Linked DNA regions of Homo sapiens: regions 1, 2, 3 and 5 are each linked to region 4. Evidence: promoter capture Hi-C in 16 types of primary human blood cells and fetal thymus (Javierre and others, 2016). All regions are on one chromosome and are shown on one strand. Each heading gives the region's core, a stretch centred on a gene start or on the middle of the fragment in contact. The rest is flanking DNA. Distances are from core to core; before and after follow the strand shown. Region 1 has its middle 84 kb from the start of TNFSF8. Region 2 overlaps TNC (tenascin C). Region 3 has its middle 3.8 kb from the start of TNFSF15. Region 4 holds the start of TNFSF8 (TNF superfamily member 8). Region 5 has its middle 23 kb from the start of TNFSF15.

Region 1 (3,564 bases), core at 977-3,476, 85 kb after region 4:
ACAGCAGGGAGGCAGCGTGTCTAGAGTATCATGAGAGGGGGGTTGAGGTCAGGGAATATAGGCCTTGAAGGCTACTGTGATGTCTCAGGCTACTTTCCTCTGAGCCGTAAGGCCGGCATTGGAGGGGTTCAGCAGTGGAGTAGTAGACCACAGCTCAGTGTTCCTACAGGACCGCTCTACAGCTCTTTGGGGTCATAGACTGGCTCTAGGAGGCAAGTGCTGGGGACACAAGGCCCTTGACTTTATTCTCAACATTGCCCAAGCTGCTTAGAATAATCCACAGGGATCATCACCTAAACCAGGCTTCAGAGATGTAAAGGAAAACAACAGCAACAGCAACAGCAACAGGAACAAGTCCACATTTTTAGATGTGCCTCACCCTGTGCTAGTGAGTTAAGTGTCAGGGCAGGAGGATCAAAGCCTTCTTGCTAAGGGGCCAGAAACAAGCCAAAGGGACAAGCACAGAACAACAAAAAATGTGCATGTTGGGCCTTCACAACCAACAATACGGTGCTGTCAAATCAGGTGAATGAGTGATGGGACATGGATACAATGGAGGCATTAAACATGTTAGACAACGGTTGGTGGTCCTTGCCAAACCTGAATGGAGACTGGACAAAGGCCAGAAACTCCCTGTGTCTCATGTTCCTGTCCCCCCACCCCAGTGTACACCTGCAAGAGGTGATCAGTGAGGTGGTAGGGTGAGGGTGCTCGTTTTTGTGTAGCAGATGGGGAGTCAAGAACATAAAAGGAGGCCTGCCAAGTTCCTTCCCACTTCTGGGAAGGGTTCTAGCCTCTTATTGAGAGAAGGATTAGCATGAAGGCAAAGTTGTTTACCTAAAGATGTCTATGAGCCTAAGAAGTCCGGTAGACATCAGCCCCATCCACTTCAACACATCTACCAGGAGTGCCTGGTTAGTGCCCTCCCGAAGCCAGGTGGAGGCTGCCATCTGCTGGTTGACTTGAGGATTTTTACCCAAATGTTTAGTTTGCCTTTCAATTTTTAGTGAGACAAACCTGTGTTGACAGCATTTTCTCCAGGCAAGATGCTGTCGGTTTTCTCTTTTAAACTATCACAGATTCTCATCAGGGTAGGTACACTTCATGATCATTTTGATGGATGCTCAGAAGAATTAAGCAATTAGACCAAGATGATCCAGTAATTGGAAAACATGGGATTTGAGCTCAGCTCTCACTAAAAAGATGGTGACTGTAAAGAAATTGTTATAAACACGTTGGCTTTGCAAACTGTAAAGTGTTATGAGGGAACCAGTAAATGGCAGGTGCTCCAAGTGTCCTAATTGGAAGAGTGAATGAAAGAATAATTGTGCAGAAGGATGTTCCTTAAGGCATTGTGACTCAAGGAGTCAGAGAACCCAGCTTTGACACTTGGAGGCTGAGTGAACTTGGGGGAAGTCATTTCACTACTCTGAGAAACAATTTCTTAACCTGTAATTGCAAATGTGCTGGGCAAATGTGCTAGGCAAATGTGGGAGCTGTTTTTTTTTTTTTTTTTCTTGACAGAGTCTCGTTCTGTTGCCCAGGTTGGAGTGCAGTGGTGCTATCTCGGCTCACTGCAACCTCTGCCTCTTGGGTTCAAGCGATTCTCCTGCCTCACCCTCCTGAGTAGCTGGGATTACAGGCATGCGCCACCATGCCCAGCTAATTTTTGTATTTTTAGTAGAGATGGGGTTTCACCATGTTGGCCAGACTGGTCTCGAACTCCTGACCTCAAATGATCCGCCCACCCCAGCCTCCCAAAGTGCTGGGATTACAGGCGTGAGGTACTGCGCCCAGTCGGAGCTGCTTATTTTGACTGCATGTGTGTGGTTTTATTTTCCTGTAAAATGTTGAAATCCATGTTACATCCTGGTGGGATTGAAACAATTCTCAAGAAAGCCTTTTTCTACTTCCTTTACAGAGATTGTAATTCCTCTGGGAGTTCCCTAGGGAGGGAGGAGGATGAGGGGAGTGAGCCCTCTGCTGGTTGCTTATATGTCCTGCCAGCCCAAACCTGGGCAGCAGGCACATGCAGGGCACCCCTGGTACCCCATTGAGGCTGGGGGGCACAGGTGGCCAGGGGCACATGCATCTCTAGTGAGGAAGCAGGCTTTCTAAAGAGCAATGTTGATGATGCCATCTGGGGCTGAAAACCCTTGGCAACTCTCAGCTGGGCTCCAGGACGCCAAGCCTTCAAGGCAAGGGTCTACCTCCATCCTCACCTCTGCTCCCCACACTGTCATCCCTTGTGTCCATCCACAAGCCTCCCCTTGGCCTTACCACTGGTCTTCATTTCTAGCTGCAGTCACCTTGAGGGAGGCTTCCTGATTCCTTCCCCACCCTAACCTAGTGCTCCAGGAGTTAATGGGCCCCTGAATCCAGTCTCCCATATCCCTAACTAGCCTGCCTTAATTAAAACTGATGCCCACATCCAGGAAAAATCCACTATAGGAGTTGAGGGCTGCTCAGGAACAAGGGTGGGGACATAGAGAGCTCTCTGGGACCCTAAGCCCCATGAATTTTACTTTCTAAATATCTCTTAGAACCATAGCTCTGTCTCCACGACACCACACTTAGCCAGGCTCTATCACCTTTCACCTGGATTCCTACAGTAGCCTCCTCAAAGGTCTCTTCCCACTTTGCACCTCCCAGCCAAAATCCAAATGCAACAAAAAAGATGGCTTAAAAAAACAGATGTGATCACAATGCTCTCCTGCTGAAAACTTCTCAGTTGCTTTCCATTGAACTGAAGAAAAAAAGCAAAATTTTTATTCTGGACCAGGAAGATCTGCGTGGCTGGGTTCCTACTGACTCCTGAAACCTCATCTTCCACAATGCATCTTTTGCACCTATGCCTCTGGCTTTCTCTGTGCACAGCGTGACAGCCATAGGACTATAGAGATACCTGCCTTTTGCCTTCTGCCTCTCCTGCTTCCTTCACCTGGTTAACTCCTACTTGCTCTTTGGATCTGGGTTCAAATGTCTGTTCCTCAGAGAGCCTTCCCCCTCAGATCCCCTTTAGACGTCTTCATAGCTTTTTATATTTGCTTCCAAAGCACAGCCCTCAGTTTGTAATCACACATTTGCTTGTCTGATCATGTGTTTGTCACTGACCTCTCTGGGGCACAGAGGCTGCATGGAGGCAGGGAATGTGGTTGTTTCACTCACATAGTGCTGAGCATAAGCGGGGAGGTGCTCAACACTGATTTTTAAATGAAAAGAGAAGTGAGAATCTTAGAAGGAGACCGACGAGGACAGCCCACAAGGAGCTCTCGGATTTTCCGGGCTTAGGCAAGGCATGGTGGGAAGACCAGCTTGGGTGGGGCAAGCTGAGAATGGGGAAGGACTGGGCTGTGTAGCCAGCTGTTTTGAGAGCATACAGGTCATAGGAGGCTCAGTGAGGAAGAACCTGCAAGGTGTGTCTCTCCTTCTGGAGAACAGACAGTCATGCCACACTGCAGAGGAGTATGCAGCCTGGATTTTCATCAGAATCTCCTGCCTGGTTGCTGTGGTGCCTGGGATGATCCCCAGCCTCCTCTGGACTGCTGCTTCCCCATCTTCAGA
Region 2 (3,484 bases), core at 309-2,808, 100 kb after region 4:
ATTCTCAGGGTATAGATAAGAAGTCATTCTATTTATAAGTTCATTTACCCATCCATTCACTTACTTACTGGACAAGAATTCATTGAGTACCCACTCTCTACCAGGCTCCATGTGCACTGCTGAGATATCAGAGATGGGGAGAGTACAGCACAAGCAAAGGTCCTTGGGCCAGAAGGTGCAGAGCAAGTTAAAATAATATAAGGAGGGAGAGACCGCATCTGGTAAGGATGAGAGCACTGCTGTAGACTCCAGGGCTAAGGCTACCACCTGCCCAAGGCCCTGCCAAACTATATTGGGAGAATGGGATTGTAATGGTTAATTTTATGTGTTAAATTGGCTGAGCCATGGGGCCCAGATATTTGGTCAAATATTATTCTATGTTTCTGTGAAGGGGGTTTTTTTTTGGATGAGATTAATATTTAAATCAGTAAACTTTGAATAAAGCAGATTTAAAACATAAAATGAAATAATATAAGGAGGCAATAAGCGACCTCAACCATACTTAGCTTCAGGTGTTAGAACAGTGGAAAATGTTACTAGATTATGAAGGGCCTTTAAATGACAAGCTTTGAAACTTAAAGTTTATCATTAAACGGAGTGAGGAGCCCTGTAAGGTATAAATGCTAAGCTTTGGAACTTGAAGTTTATCATCACAAGAAATGGGGAGCCTTGAAAGATGTTTGGACATGCCAATGACATAAACCAAGCTGTGCTTTAAGAAGCTTAATCTGGTAGCAAGATGAATCACACAGGGTAAGGGACTTTGAGGTCAGTTAGGTCAGTGGTCCCTAAATATAGCTCTTTATCACTCTCAGAAGCTTTAAAACAATATGATGCCTGGGCCTCATCTCAGACTGATGGAATCATCAGAGCCAGAAGTTGGGCCTGGCTATATTTAAGAAACTTCCCAAGTGATTTGAATGTGCAGTCAGTTTGGGGATCTCTTGAGTTAGGAGATGATTATAATAGCCCCATAGGCATGGTAGGATTAAAACTTAAGCTGACCTCACATGTCTCTCTTCTAGAACAGAGATATCCATGACAGACAGATGTTGACCAACTCTAACTACACTTGTAGTCTGTGGCTGGTCTCTGTGCTGCTGTACAGAGGAGGTCATTGGTTTCAGTTTGCAGGAAATCCTCTTTCCACACCCTCTTGCTAGCTTCCAATTCTTTTCAGCAAATGACCTTAGTGTCTGGGATTGGAATTCAACCTACACTCCTAGTAAACCAAGCACAACGATCTTCTCTACAACCTGCAAACAGCCAGCTTAGTTTGGGCAGTCATGCATCAGTGCAGAAGCCCCTGGAAGGTTCTCCTGCATCCTGGGAACTGGGAAGGTACCTTATCCTGTTTTCTTCAATGGGAGAATTGAGTTTCAGAGAAGCTAAAAGACTTGCTCTCATTCCATAAATTGTTGGAGGCAGAGGATGATCTTGCATGCGGGTTTCCCAACACCCTGTCCAGGACTCTTTTCTCCTATACCAGGTTGATTTTTTTTCTAAGACATGTAAAGCTGGTGAATGGACATGCAGAAAAGTAAACTGGGATGAGTGCTCATTTAATACCCAGAGGCCTTTTTGCAGCCCCCCAGTTCTAGTCCCTGGGGGAAAGATCAACTGTCAGGGATAAAGCTGGGTTCATTGAATTACTTAGGAATACAATTACCTGTCAGTTCTCTAGGCTTCTGTGCAAAGCCATTTTCTAGGCAATTAGGGTACTCTAGATCAAAATGAGACTCATGATTCAGGTAAACACAGAATCCTAGAATGCCTGACAAGGAGAAGACCTTAAAGATGGATAAGTCCAAGGCATTCATTTTACAGATGGGAACACTGACACCCAGAGAAGATAAAGGATTTGCTTCAGCTCACACAGTGAGATAGTTCATTGTTATATCAATTCCAGGAAGGGGCATGATAGTTATTAGCAATGTGTCCAGTTCTGGTTAAATATGACAGATTGGATACAGCCACTCATCTCTACTTGCTTCTAAAACCCACTAAAAAGAGAGCAAGAGAATGTAAGGTATAAATCCATGAAGATGAGGGGAATGGGAGAGGAGACAGCAACAGGTGTGCCAGAAACTTGGTAGATAGAAAGTGAGTGGTAGAGAGACCATGGAGGGGAATGAATGAAGAAGGCTGAGGTTAACTAAGGAGCATGGGCAGAGCTAGTCAGAGGCTGCTTGGTGCAAGTCACAGAGTCCAGCAAGTTCAGTAAAGGAATGTGTACAAAAGCAGAGATGTCTTTAAAGGCCAATGTGGAGTGTGGTTGAACAAAGGTTTGGTTTGTTTAGAAGCTTTTTTGTAAGAAACAGACTCTAAGATCTCCTCATTCCCTCCAACAGTCTAAATGACTGCCCTTTCCCATTCAGATGGTAGGCTGAGGTTTACTCTCTGGAAAGGTTGAGCCAGAGAGGAAGTCCGGATTCAAATCCACCAGGCTCAGCCTTCAAGGAGGCCGAGGTGCTACACTGGAAACATAATAAGATGAAAGTTTGTACACAGTGAGAGGCCAGGTTTTATGGCACTGTTATTTGGGGGTCCCCCAAGAAAACTGTGGGTACTTGCCCAATCATTCTGCAGGGAGCCACAAAGTTGACAAGCCCTGCCTGAGCTAACTCCCTATTAGCTCTTTCATTCCTAGTTCAAATACAAAAAGACAGACCATGATCAACAGACATTGGGTGGATGTCTCCAACATGAAAGACAGAAACCCAAACCAAACCAAACTCAACAACAGCAGCAAAACAAAGAAACTTGTAACAAACACTGTGCAGGATATAGAATAAAATACCAGCAACATATTCTTAGAGATAAAGAGATGATGATATAGGAAGCACAAACAAAATGCCAGAAAAAGATCAATGTGTGGAGAACAAGCAAAAGATCTTGGAAATATAAAGTGAGATAACCAAAATGAAAAATTCAATAACAAGTTTGGAAGGTAAAGTTTAGGAAATCTCCTTCGCTTGTTTGAAGATCTAAAGTTATTTCAAATTAAAAGGTAAAAGAAAGAAAATTCTTGGGTAGCGAATATAAATAATATAAACACTGGATAAAAATGGTATTAACAGTTGATATCATAAGAACACGGTGAAACATATTACAATATATAATATAAAGATACCATCTGTGAGATAATACATATGGCAAACATGCAGAGAAACCTTTTGGCCTTTGTTCAACAAAATATTAAAGGATCAAGATTCCAGCTCCTAAAATGTCCTCAAGTCTTGTAAGCAGTGGTTCTTGATCTTGGCTGCCTATCAGAACTGGAGTCTGGTTAAAATGAAAGAGGCTGGAGAGTATGATTCAGAAGGTCTGGCATGCCATCCAGTCTCTACTAATTTTTTTTTTCAGCTCCCCAGATGCACTGGGGTAGAAAAACAGCATCAGGTAATTCTTCCATACTTTGAAGATCATGCAAATGCTTCAACTAGCATTGAGGAGTTGTTATATACTTAAAATACCTTGACTG
Region 3 (3,647 bases), core at 979-3,478, 120 kb before region 4:
TCTATTAAGAAACATCTTTGAGATTAACCTAAATCTTTGCTATTGTAACTTAACCTTTCTTTTGATGACTGAGTAGCATTCTATGGTACGGATATACAACAGTTTGTTTAATCATTCGCCCACTGAAGGACATTTGGGTTATTTCCAGTTTTGAGTTATTATGAATAATGCTGTTGTGAATATTTGTGTACAGATTATTTTGTGTGAACATGTTTTCACTTTTTCTGGTATAAATGCCCAAAGTGAAATTGTTGGCTGTATGGTAAACAAATGTTTAATTTCCCATGGTAAAATTAACTGCCATGGTAAAAACATACCATGTTTTTTACCATGGTATGTTTTTACCATGGCAGTTACCTATAAAATTTAAGCAGTTGCCTAAATATAGCAGTTATCTACAATTAATTCTGTAGGTAACTGTATGGCAGTTACCTACAACCAGAGTGGTTGTATCATTTTACTTCCCACAAGTAATGTGTGAAAGGTCCAGCATCCTCTCTGTATCCTCTCTCCAGCATTTGGTGCCTTTACTATATTTTGCTTTTGCCGTTCTGATAAGTGTGTGGTCGTATCTCACTGTGGTTTTAATTTGCATTCCCCTAATGGCTAATCATGTTGAACATCTTTTCACATACTTATTTGCCATCTGTATAACTTCTTTGATAATACAGAGATCTATTTTGGCTGCCAGGAGGTACTTCTTTTTTCCTTCTTGAATCTCAGTGGATTCAAAGGCAAAAAGTAAATCACTTAACAGATAAATGATGAGTTATCGCACTTGAGTATGTGCAAGATAGTGTTCTAGGTACTGGGGATAAAACAGTGAAAAGAACAGACAAAACCTCCTGCTTTCATGAAGCTTATATTCTGGTGGGGGGAGACGGCCAGTAATTAAAACAAATAAGTTAATTTATAGTACATTAGATGGCCTTAAGTGATTTAGAAAAAAAAAAGAGATAAATGATCTTAATTGCAATTGAAAATAGAGTTGTCAGAATAGACCTCATTGAGAGGAGACATATGAATGAAGACTTGAAGAGGGTGGGGGAGGACGTGGAGGTGTCTGGAGGAAGAGAGCCTGGCATTGAAGCCAGTGTACATGGTGTATTTACAGAGCAGCAAGGTGGCCAGGTCAGCTGGGGCAGTGGGTGAGGGGGAGTGGGGGGACCACAAGGTCAGAGTGATGGAGGAGGCTGACCGTGTGTGTCCTCCTGGGTCCAGGTAGGACTTGGCTTCTTCTTCACTGAGTTTGATGGGAAGAGAGGTGGTGGTGAGTGGAGTAGGGGTTCTTTGGAAGGTGATGGGCGGAGAGGTGGCAGGCTCTGATTTTACTTTGAAAAGATCATCCTGTTTGCTGTGTTGAGAACAGCCTGAAGTCTGGGAGACCCATTTGGAGACCACTGCAATCATCCAGGAGAGGCAGGATGGTGGCTTGGATGAGGTGATGACAATGAGGGTCACAAGAAATAGTGGATCCTGGATATATTAATATTTTAAACTAGAGCAGACATAATTTCTTATTATGCTAGATGTGGAGTGAGAGAGAAAGAGAAGAGAAAAGTCTGAGTCAAGGGCTTTTTGTTTGAGCGTGGGGTGCGTAAAGACATCTTTAATGGAGGCAGGGCAGGCTTTGGCTAGATGCTTGAGAGCGGAGATTGAGATAAATAAAGTAAGGGGACTTTTAGATGACCAAGCGGAGGCAATTAATAGGTAGATGAACGGTTATTTGGGGCTTCCAGGCAGAGGCTTGCATGGAGATACTAATTTGAGAGTCATGCTTGACACGGCACCTACCACACAGTTAATACTCAAAGTGGAGGGTCTCCATAAGATTACAGGCCGTCAAATCCTGTATCTCAAGTCCTTGGAGCCAGGTTTCAAAAAGCATTAAGTTGAACCATCTGAAATTGCATATATCTGGTCATTTTTGACCTGCAATAATAATAGTTTTATATGGTTGTCCTGAGTAACCTATTACACATACCTTATATTTCATAACACTTTTGGTGGGGTCTGAAACAACACCTAATAATCAAATACAGAAAGAATTCTGCAGCCCAACATACTCATACTGAATGTGATAGGTAACAATTCCCAACAACACATGCCCTTTCAGGTCAGCTTTTGCTGCCAAATGCTTTCAGTTTTTAGATATTTTTGGATTTTGTTTACGGACTGGTATTATTATCACTGTTGCTGTTATTATTGTTACCATTCTGTATGGCATTCAGGGGGTTGAACTAGGCAATAAGTAGAAGTTACTGAAAGGCAAACTTTGGCTCAATTTGAAGACTTTGTCAATACTGTCCAAAGATAAATCATGTTGCTTCCAGAGGTGGGGGCTCTCTGTTTCAACGATAAGGACAGGACCTGAATGGCCACTGATTGAGAATATTTTAGAGGAAATTTGATTATTGGAGAAATGATTGGAGTTGATGTCTTTTATAGCTTTTGCTCCTACTGAGACAAGATGACTCTACATTTTTTCTACTTTTCAGGCCTTCTTCTCTTCATGTGTTAAATGGGGACAGGGAGCTTTGTGATTGCTAAGGATGCTTCTACCATTAACGTTTTCAGGGTCTCGTGATTCCCTGTGTCTTCTCTCTGCTTGTTGGTTGTTCCTTCCACCCATCTCTGCACATCTTTGCTTACATCCTTGTTTGCTAATAAATACATTTTTCAGAATGTCCCATAGCAATTTCCTCATGATGTGCAAATGAGGGATTAGCAAGGGCAGCTGAGTTGGGTCAGCAGATGTTTTCTCTGTTGCTTGAGTTAGTAAAAAAAGTTCATTTTTCAGCAATTACTTCTAGATAGGTTTTGGACTTGAGCAATATCCACAGCCTTTCTGCAAGGGTGCTTATTTGGGCATAGCCCTACTTTCCTGGACTGGCATCGATGGTTGGCAAGACCTCCCCCCATCTGGTTCTCTTGGGAAAAGAGCTATTTGATGAAATAGAAATTTTCAGTGGCTAACTCACTGTCTTCTAAGTGGCAACAGAAAAAGTGCAAACATTTTGAATAGAAACCTTTCTGAAATACAGTTTAAACTTTTAAAACAGTTTTTTTATGATTATAAAAGTAACATTTTAACTTTAGAAAACTAAAGAAACGGAAGACAATTGAGTCTTCTGCACTTATTGAATCACAAAGAGCAATGTTATTCCTATGCGGAATATGCCCTGAAAATCAGGCTTTGAGAAATCTTTCTTCTTTTCCTTTCTTCTTAATCATTTTCTTTCTTCCTGCTTTGCTTAAATCTAGCTTCCCTTTGGATTAATAAAAATTCTCAAGAGGGTGACAGCCAACTATTTCACTTACAGGCATATACCCGAAAGAAACCCTCACATATGTTCAACAGGAGGTATGTATGAGGAACAAGGAGCTTAACCGTAGCACCGTCATCACAGTGGCACAAACCTGGATGCACACCAGATGCCTGTCATCAGGCAGGCAGCAAATAAACTGTGGTGAGCCACACAATAGGGCATTGTTCAGCCATCCAGATAAAGGATCAACAGCAACATGCCTCAATGCGGATGAATCTTAACACAATAATATTAAGTGAAGATGCAAATTTCCAAAGATTTTATATAACAAAGCTTACATAAAGTTAAAAATAACATGTGTGCATTTGTGGTACACAC
Region 4 (3,520 bases), core at 370-2,869:
ATACCACGAAAAGTAGGCACTATGAAGTAAGAAACAGAAATATTCTCACTTTGGCAGGTCATGTGGGTGGGTGCAGCTCTTAAATTACCCATTAACAACTTCATCAAAAAATTCATGAGCAATATATGCTATTACTACAGCATTTTCTATATAATATATACTGGTAGATTCTCTGTAAACACCAATTTTCTAAAATATGAAGAAGCTTCCTCTTTCTCCTCCTCTTCTGTTTTCAGAAACAAATCTTACCATTTACTTCAAAGTAAATCTCCGAAGACAGTCTGACCCTGTACAGTGTGTACCCAACGATTGCTTAGTATTGTGAGGAACATCAGAGAGAACAGGTGCTAAAAACCTTTCAACTTTCTGCTTCTATGTGCTGTTTCTTTTTTTTTTTTTTTTGTGACGCCCTAACTTCTTCAAAGTTGTGGCTTAAGAGGAAGCTTTCGATTTGTCTTGCTGGCTTTAACACCAAAATGTCCAAAGCTCTAAGAAGCCATGGTCTTCTCTTTCGCCTCCTTTCCTTCTAGACCTTGGCCTCTGAAACTTAGCTCCTTGTATAAAACAAAAGCAAAAACAAAACTCTTGGCAATGGGTGAGGCCTCAGAAACCTCCAGGACACTCAGACTTAGGATATAGAACCTCAGAATCCAGTCTGAAGTCCTTGAAGACATGATAACAACTTGTGCAAATGTGTTATCAGGTTTCTCTATTGCTTCCTTCCTTGATATGGGTCTCTGGCTCATTAAGATTTAAATCTTAACTTTAAAAGGCCAATAGCTCCCCTCCACTGTTTTGCTCAGACAGATCTGCAAAGTTTTAAGATGATGGTCTAACAATATTTTTCTCAACAAGCCAAATTATTTTAGAGAGTTAAGTTCCTCTTTCTTTTCTCCCTTTCTCATATATATATATATATATAATATATACTGTATAATATAATATATATTATGTAACATAAGTGTATTACGTTATACAGTATATACTATAGTATATATATATATATAGAGAGAGAGAGTTTATTTATTTAATTTTATTTTGTGCTCTTAACCAACAAACGAATATCATTTGTTCCCAGGGCTCTTTCTCTCGGGAAAACAACAAGAAAAGGAAAGGGAGGAAGAGGAGTCCACTTACCGTCCTCTGAACGACCAACACCATAATAGTGGCCACCGTGAAGACAAGGCACAGAGCCAGAGTGGCTGTGGTCAAATAGAAATAGCTGCGGCTCGTGGTCCCCAGGTGGCTGGCCACGGAGCCCGCCGGCACATGCATGGCTGTGTCTCCAGGAGGGGCCATTCCGTTGAGTGCTTGCTGCAGCCCTGGGTCCATTCTTTATATAGTCTTCCCCACATCACACCTTATCTCTCTTCATCTGATTCAGTTCTGGGCCCATCTCTGTTCCAAGAAGGATTCTCCCCCTGAATCCTGAATCATGTGACTTGGAAAAAAACCTTCACCTGCTGCCTGGTGGAGAAACTCTTCTCTGGGGGCGTGAGGCGAGAGGCGGCAGCAAGGGTGGGGGAGAGGTTCATTTTTCATTGCCAGGGATTAAGTTGTGTGCAGAGAAACTAGCTACAGAGAAGGTGGCTGATGTCAGAGGGCGCGTAGGAAAATGACGGTTCCCCGACTGTGTGTGTGTATGTGTGTGTGTGTGTGTGTGTGTGTGCATGCGTGCGCACACACAAAGCAACTTCTGTTTCGTTTAGACTCTGCCACAAAACGCCTTCCTGTTCAAGAAGCTGCACCTTCTTTCAGCGAGGCCTGTGGCTCAGAAGACCTCCCCAGATAATGAGTCCTTGCTGGGTCTCAGGGAGGCCGGATCCCTCGGACTGCAGTGTAATAACTCCAAAGGGTTCGGTTTGATAGGCTACTGCTGAAAAAGGGACATGCTGCAGGTTCCCTGGGGGAAAAAGGGCACACAAATGGAGATATTTCTCCAAAGGGGGACTGGCTCATGGCAGTATGAAATTTGGGGTTCAAAGATACTGTCAGAAAGCAGGAATCTGGAAATATCAATCTTTTGAACAAACACTCCTGCAGAAGTTTTGGGATCTGTTAAACTGGCAGATGAACCTGGACCTGCCGTAAAACTCATGAAGAGGGGAAGGAATTGGCAGTGAGATGGTGTGGTGTGGAATATGGGGGCTGTGTGTGTTCTGCGTGGTGTACTATGTAGTGTGTGTGTATTTGTGGTATGGGGGTATGTGTAGGTGTTGTGTGTTCTCTATGGTATATGTATGCAGTGTGTGTGTGGTGTGCATTTGTGATCTGCAATGCATGCCGAGTGTGGTGCGTATGTAAGTGTTGTGTGTGGTGTGTATGTATGTGTTGTGTGTGGTGTGTTGTGTCTTGTGTATGTATGTGTTGTGTGTGTATGTGACTACTATAATTGAACCTCTACTGTCTCAGGCACAGCGCTAGGAGTTACATGTGGCTTCATTCCACTTCCACCTCCACCCTCCGAGGCAGGCAATGTTTATTTTTTACAGATGGGAAAACTGAGGCTCAGGGAGGATGAAAACTATCTCAACCTAAGTCGCAAGTGTCGATCACTGAAAGAACTTGGGTGCACTTTGCAGCCTGCCTGGCTGAAAGCTCGTGCTAAGTCATTCAATCTTCACTGCACCTGAAAGCTAAAACCTGAAGTGTGGTCTCAGCCCTTTCCCTTCTTAGCCTTGGGCCATCATACAAGTCTTTATGGCTTTCTCTGTTCCCAATCTGCATTACAGTCATCAGGAAGACCAAGCGAGATGATGTCAGAGTACTCCATGAATAAAAATAGATTTGGGGATGGTGTTGGACAATTCCTGTTAAACATCCCAAGCTGTCTACTGGGCTAAGTCTGGAATTTAGATACAATAGACAGATTACCTGGGGGACAGAGTCAGATCACATCTGTGGTTACTAATGATCTCCATTTCAAAATACCGTTTAAAATGTTAATCACTGCATAGCTGCTGCCTCCAGATGTGGGCCTTTGAAAGCTCCATTTGGTATCACCGTGGAAGAAGCTCATTCTGCATAGCACCTCCTTTCCTTTCTGCTCACTTTTTGTCTGCAGCGCATCACTTTGAGCCAGCAGAGATCCCAGATGCCCCTAAGGAAACGTCCTGTGTCTAAAGCCAAGCTTGGATTATTACCACTGCTGTTCTTGCATAGAACCAAAACTTCTGAGCATCTCCCAAATTAGATCAGGCTTTAGGATTTGGTCTGGATATTTCCTCCCAGTGAGTCTGTAAAAGCATAGATCCTGGAGACGAAAGAGACATCAAGAGATAAATTGTTTTCTTGGGCTAAATAGAGTGGGGGGCGATATACCCATTTTACAATCAAGGAAACCGAGGCCCCCGTGATCCCAATTGAGTTTGGTTTTGAAAACAGTGTGTTCACGTTCGTTTGGTCCGGTAATTAAGGTGGGAACGAGGCAAGCCAGTGTTTTCTGGGGCATGTACCTGGCTGATTTGGGGAGAAGGCTGTGTCCTCTGGTGGGCACGGACAGTGAGTGGGTAGCAAGGGC
Region 5 (3,440 bases), core at 902-3,401, 100 kb before region 4:
TGTTAAGAATCCTTGCACAAAAATACCCAGTAAATGAAGGCATGAAAAAGGCAAGCCATCACCTTGATTGAAATTGATTTTCAGTTTTTCTCATTTGAGGCCCAATAGTATTTCAAGCTGCATGTCAAACAGAGACGGAAACACGGTAGAGCTCAAGAAGGATTTTTGTCAAAATGGAGCTCTGGTAGCCAGGTAAATCCAATGCCAACAGTACAGTTGAGATAGCTCCATTCATGGAGAAGCCCATAGTGGGGAGGAGGGGCACAAGGTGGAGTCTGAGAAAACTGGAATCTATTCTTGGCGGTAGGGATGATGTCAAAGCATGAATACAAGCATAAACTCATGATCATTAGAATGTATGATCACAGTCACTAGGATGTACATGGGAGCTGTTAAGAAATAAGGAAGAAACTGCTGCAGTGAGTGTGACCAAAGGGTTGGAAAAACATTGAGGCAATGACTTTAAATGCAATGGGCTGTGTACTACCCTCTGTTACCTCCACTTCCCTTATCCTCCTCCTACTCCAAACCTCTTCTTCCCAGTTTCTTCCATTGTCCTTTATCTAAACTGACTACCTCCTTCCTCCTTCCTTCCCCACTTAGATCTTCCTCACTCCAGGTTTCTGTCTCATTCCCCCCATGGAAGCCATGCCTTACATTTTTATAATGGTTGGCAGTTCACAATGCCAGCTGGAATACATTATCTCATCAACCTCATAACCACACTTGTAGGTAGGTGCTGTCCCCATTCTGCAGATGATGAAAACGAGCCTAAGGGAGATGAAGTCACTGGCCTAAAGTCACATAGCCATGTGGGGGCAGAGGCACAATGATGGCCCATGGTTTTTTCTCCATTCACCTCTCCAACTTTACAGATTAAGTCCCTGGCATTCCAGTGTGCTGACTTGCACTAGATTTGCCCTGAATGTTGAAAATCAAGTGATCCCCTCCTTTAAGGACCCCAAGGTGGCTACTTTCTCTAGGAGGGATTTTTAGTCAAAAGAGGATTTGTCTCCCTGAACGTTGTCTTGAATTCTGGGGAAGTCCCATCCTAAGTCATTGGAATCTTTTAATGCCCAAGCCCGTTGCCTATGTTCAAACTCCATTCTGATGATACTGATACTGTGGGTACAAATCAGCAGGCTAGAATCAGCAGCGAGCTGGAGCCCACATATACTGGCTTGTTGGTTAAATTTTCAGGAATTTTTTGAGCTGGCTGTTAAACACAACCATTACTGAAAATTATTTAAGCTTATAATCAAGTGAATTATATTGAAAACAAAGGTAAGGGATATTCAAAACTCATTACTTCTCATTTTGCTAGACTTTACTATTACTGTAATTAATGTACTCTTGAAGTTATTCCTATGTATTGTATCCGAAAGAGGAAAATGCCATGTAATGCTCTGCTGTTGCTCATCTCTTTCCCACTCTGTGTTTAGTGACATCACATTGGCAGCTTGAAATTTGCCACAGAGAGAATATTTACACCATGGAAATCAGCAAAAGTTACAAATCAAGGTCCTCTTTCTCCTTCATTAAACATTTACCAGCCAACCATGGGCTAAGATACATCAAGGTTTATGGTAATTGGGCCTCTAGACTCCTGAATGCCAAGGCTGGTTCTCCTTCATGCCAGCATGAACTTGGGCAGAAGGCAGAATGGTGTCTAGAGAATGGAGATAATAGAAATCAGGAGGTAACTCACTGCTTGTCCTCTCTTCCTCCACCTTGGTAGTGATGACAATACCAGCAATGATATAGGACACTTAAGACCATTATGGACCAGGTGATGTATTAGGCATTTTACTTACCCTGTCTGTTAAAGTCTCACACAAACCATATAAGACATTATTGTTCCCATTTTACAGGTGGAAATCTGAAGCTCTGAGAGGTGGAATGAGTTGCCTGAATTTACCAGAATGTGGGATTTACCAGAATGTTTACCAGAACGAATTTACCAGTCAGGCTTTGAGGCCAGATCTGTCTGATCCAAAATCAGTGCTCTTTCTGAAATGCTGATGCAAAAGGAAGTCATCAGAACTCTATAGACCAACCCTGCACATTTGTTACCTTCTCCAGAAGTGCTTTCGTTGCTGATATACCAGACGTCTTTTGTTAAAATTAATCTACTACCATCACCGTATGGGGAATAACTCTGGCTAGCCTAAGAAAAGCAACCTTACATAGGTAAAAATAATTGCACCCCTTCCATCTGCCAAAAGAGTTCTATTGTCGGTTTCCCAGGCAATATATGTGCTTTGGGAAATATTGCCATTAGACAATCTGAGTGTGGTTGCAGTAAAGTATTCTAGAATGACTGGAATACCCAGCAAACTGGGTAAGAATCATGTGTTCTGCTGTCAGCAGACCTTGTCTGGGCCTGGCAAACTCTGCCTCTGGGGTTAGCAAAACTCCCTTACGCTCCCCTCTTTCAAACAAGAGTGATTATCAGTTGTCAAAGTTGTTACTTCTGCAGAGAAGGAAAAGTGGTTCTGGACACTGTCCACAGATTGTTTCCTCCTCTGGGGCAAGAGGATTGGGAGAGGGGTATGCACATGCTTTTCTCAATTTGTGGTTTTTGCTTGGGTTTGTGGTTTAAATCCCTAATTTTGGCAATCATCTCTGCCACAGACCATCCAATCCATGCAGGTGGGTTCATTCCATACTCTGTGAAATATATTTTGATGTTAGAGGGGTGGGAATGTCTGATTTATTGTTTCATCCTCGTCTCTGGGGAGGGGAAGCAAAGCTAGTAGTAGTTTTTTTTTCAAGGGCAATCTCAGGCCATTCTAGAATGCTTCATTGCAGCCACACTCTGATTGCCTAATGGCAATATTTCCTGAAGGCTATATTTTGCCTGGGAAACAGACAGTAGAACTCTTTTGGCAGATGGAAGGGGTGCAGTTATTTCAATCTATGTAAGGTTGATTTCCTGAGGCTAGCTGGAGTTATTCCCCATATTGTGATGGTAGTAGAAACCTCTTGAAAAGGCTGGAAGCCTACAGAGGAAAGTCCCTTGGGAAACCTGATTGTTGAATGTGTCTGACCATAAGCTTATTCAAATATGGATGTTTTTCAGTTATCGGAAGATTTGGGCTTTCCAGGTCTGCCTTCTTTCTTGCTCTTGATGTTTGTAAGGGAGGTAGGTATTGATTGTACTTGAAAAGTATGCCCAGAAGATGGCATTCATTCCAGTGGGATGGTGAGAGAATGACACATTGGCACTAGAAAATGCCAGGCTGGGAATCTAGAAATGAAACAAAGGAAAGCACCCTGCAGAGCTGGCGAGGTGTGAGTATGGAGAGTCCCCACCTGGCAGGGAAGGGCTGCAGAAGCAGATGTGATCTGAGCCAACCTGGTTTTCCTCCTCAGTCTGCCTTCTCCCTTCCATTAGGGACATGGCTAGATCCTCCCTGATAAGAGCCCCTAAAAGAGGT

The links. The method cuts DNA at HindIII sites, captures the fragments that hold promoters and counts their contacts. A CHiCAGO score of 5 or more calls a contact.
Region 1: a contact is called between a fragment that was not itself captured here and the fragment with the promoter of TNFSF8 in region 4, in 14 of 17 cell types (activated CD4 T cells, monocytes, naive CD8 T cells and 11 more). The highest score is 27.2, in activated CD4 T cells.
Region 2: a fragment that was not itself captured here is called in contact with the fragment with the promoter of TNFSF8 in region 4 in 1 of 17 cell types (monocytes); the score reaches 5.3 in monocytes.
Region 3: a fragment that was not itself captured here is called in contact with the fragment with the promoter of TNFSF8 in region 4 in 10 of 17 cell types (total B cells, activated CD4 T cells, monocytes and 7 more); the score reaches 9.7 in total B cells.
Region 5: a fragment that was not itself captured here is called in contact with the fragment with the promoter of TNFSF8 in region 4 in 3 of 17 cell types (activated CD4 T cells, naive B cells and monocytes); the score reaches 7.8 in activated CD4 T cells.

Annotation. Positions count from the first base shown.
Region 1 is chr9:115,013,243-115,016,806 of GRCh38, forward strand. No RefSeq gene overlaps it. Among named protein-coding and RNA genes, the nearest start is that of TNFSF8, 84 kb to the left of the region's middle. RefSeq lists an enhancer at 849-1,038. The HindIII fragment of the contact is 6,629 bases long and covers 1-3,564 here.
Region 2 is chr9:115,031,728-115,035,211 of GRCh38, forward strand. It overlaps TNC (tenascin C), which reads right to left. Exons shown (of 28, transcript NM_002160.4): 22 at 3,477-3,484. Among named protein-coding and RNA genes, the nearest start is that of TNC, 85 kb to the right of the region's middle. The HindIII fragment of the contact is 1,485 bases long and covers 817-2,301 here.
Region 3 is chr9:114,808,056-114,811,702 of GRCh38, forward strand. No RefSeq gene overlaps it. Among named protein-coding and RNA genes, the nearest start is that of TNFSF15, 3.8 kb to the left of the region's middle. The HindIII fragment of the contact is 2,743 bases long and covers 858-3,600 here.
Region 4 is chr9:114,928,972-114,932,491 of GRCh38, forward strand. It overlaps TNFSF8 (TNF superfamily member 8), which reads right to left and starts at 1,620. Exons shown (of 4, transcript NM_001244.4): 1 at 1,138-1,620. The coding sequence starts at 1,332. RefSeq lists an enhancer at 714-1,273. The HindIII fragment of the contact is 2,687 bases long and covers 442-3,128 here.
Region 5 is chr9:114,827,392-114,830,831 of GRCh38, forward strand. No RefSeq gene overlaps it. Among named protein-coding and RNA genes, the nearest start is that of TNFSF15, 23 kb to the left of the region's middle. The HindIII fragment of the contact is 1,805 bases long and covers 1,250-3,054 here.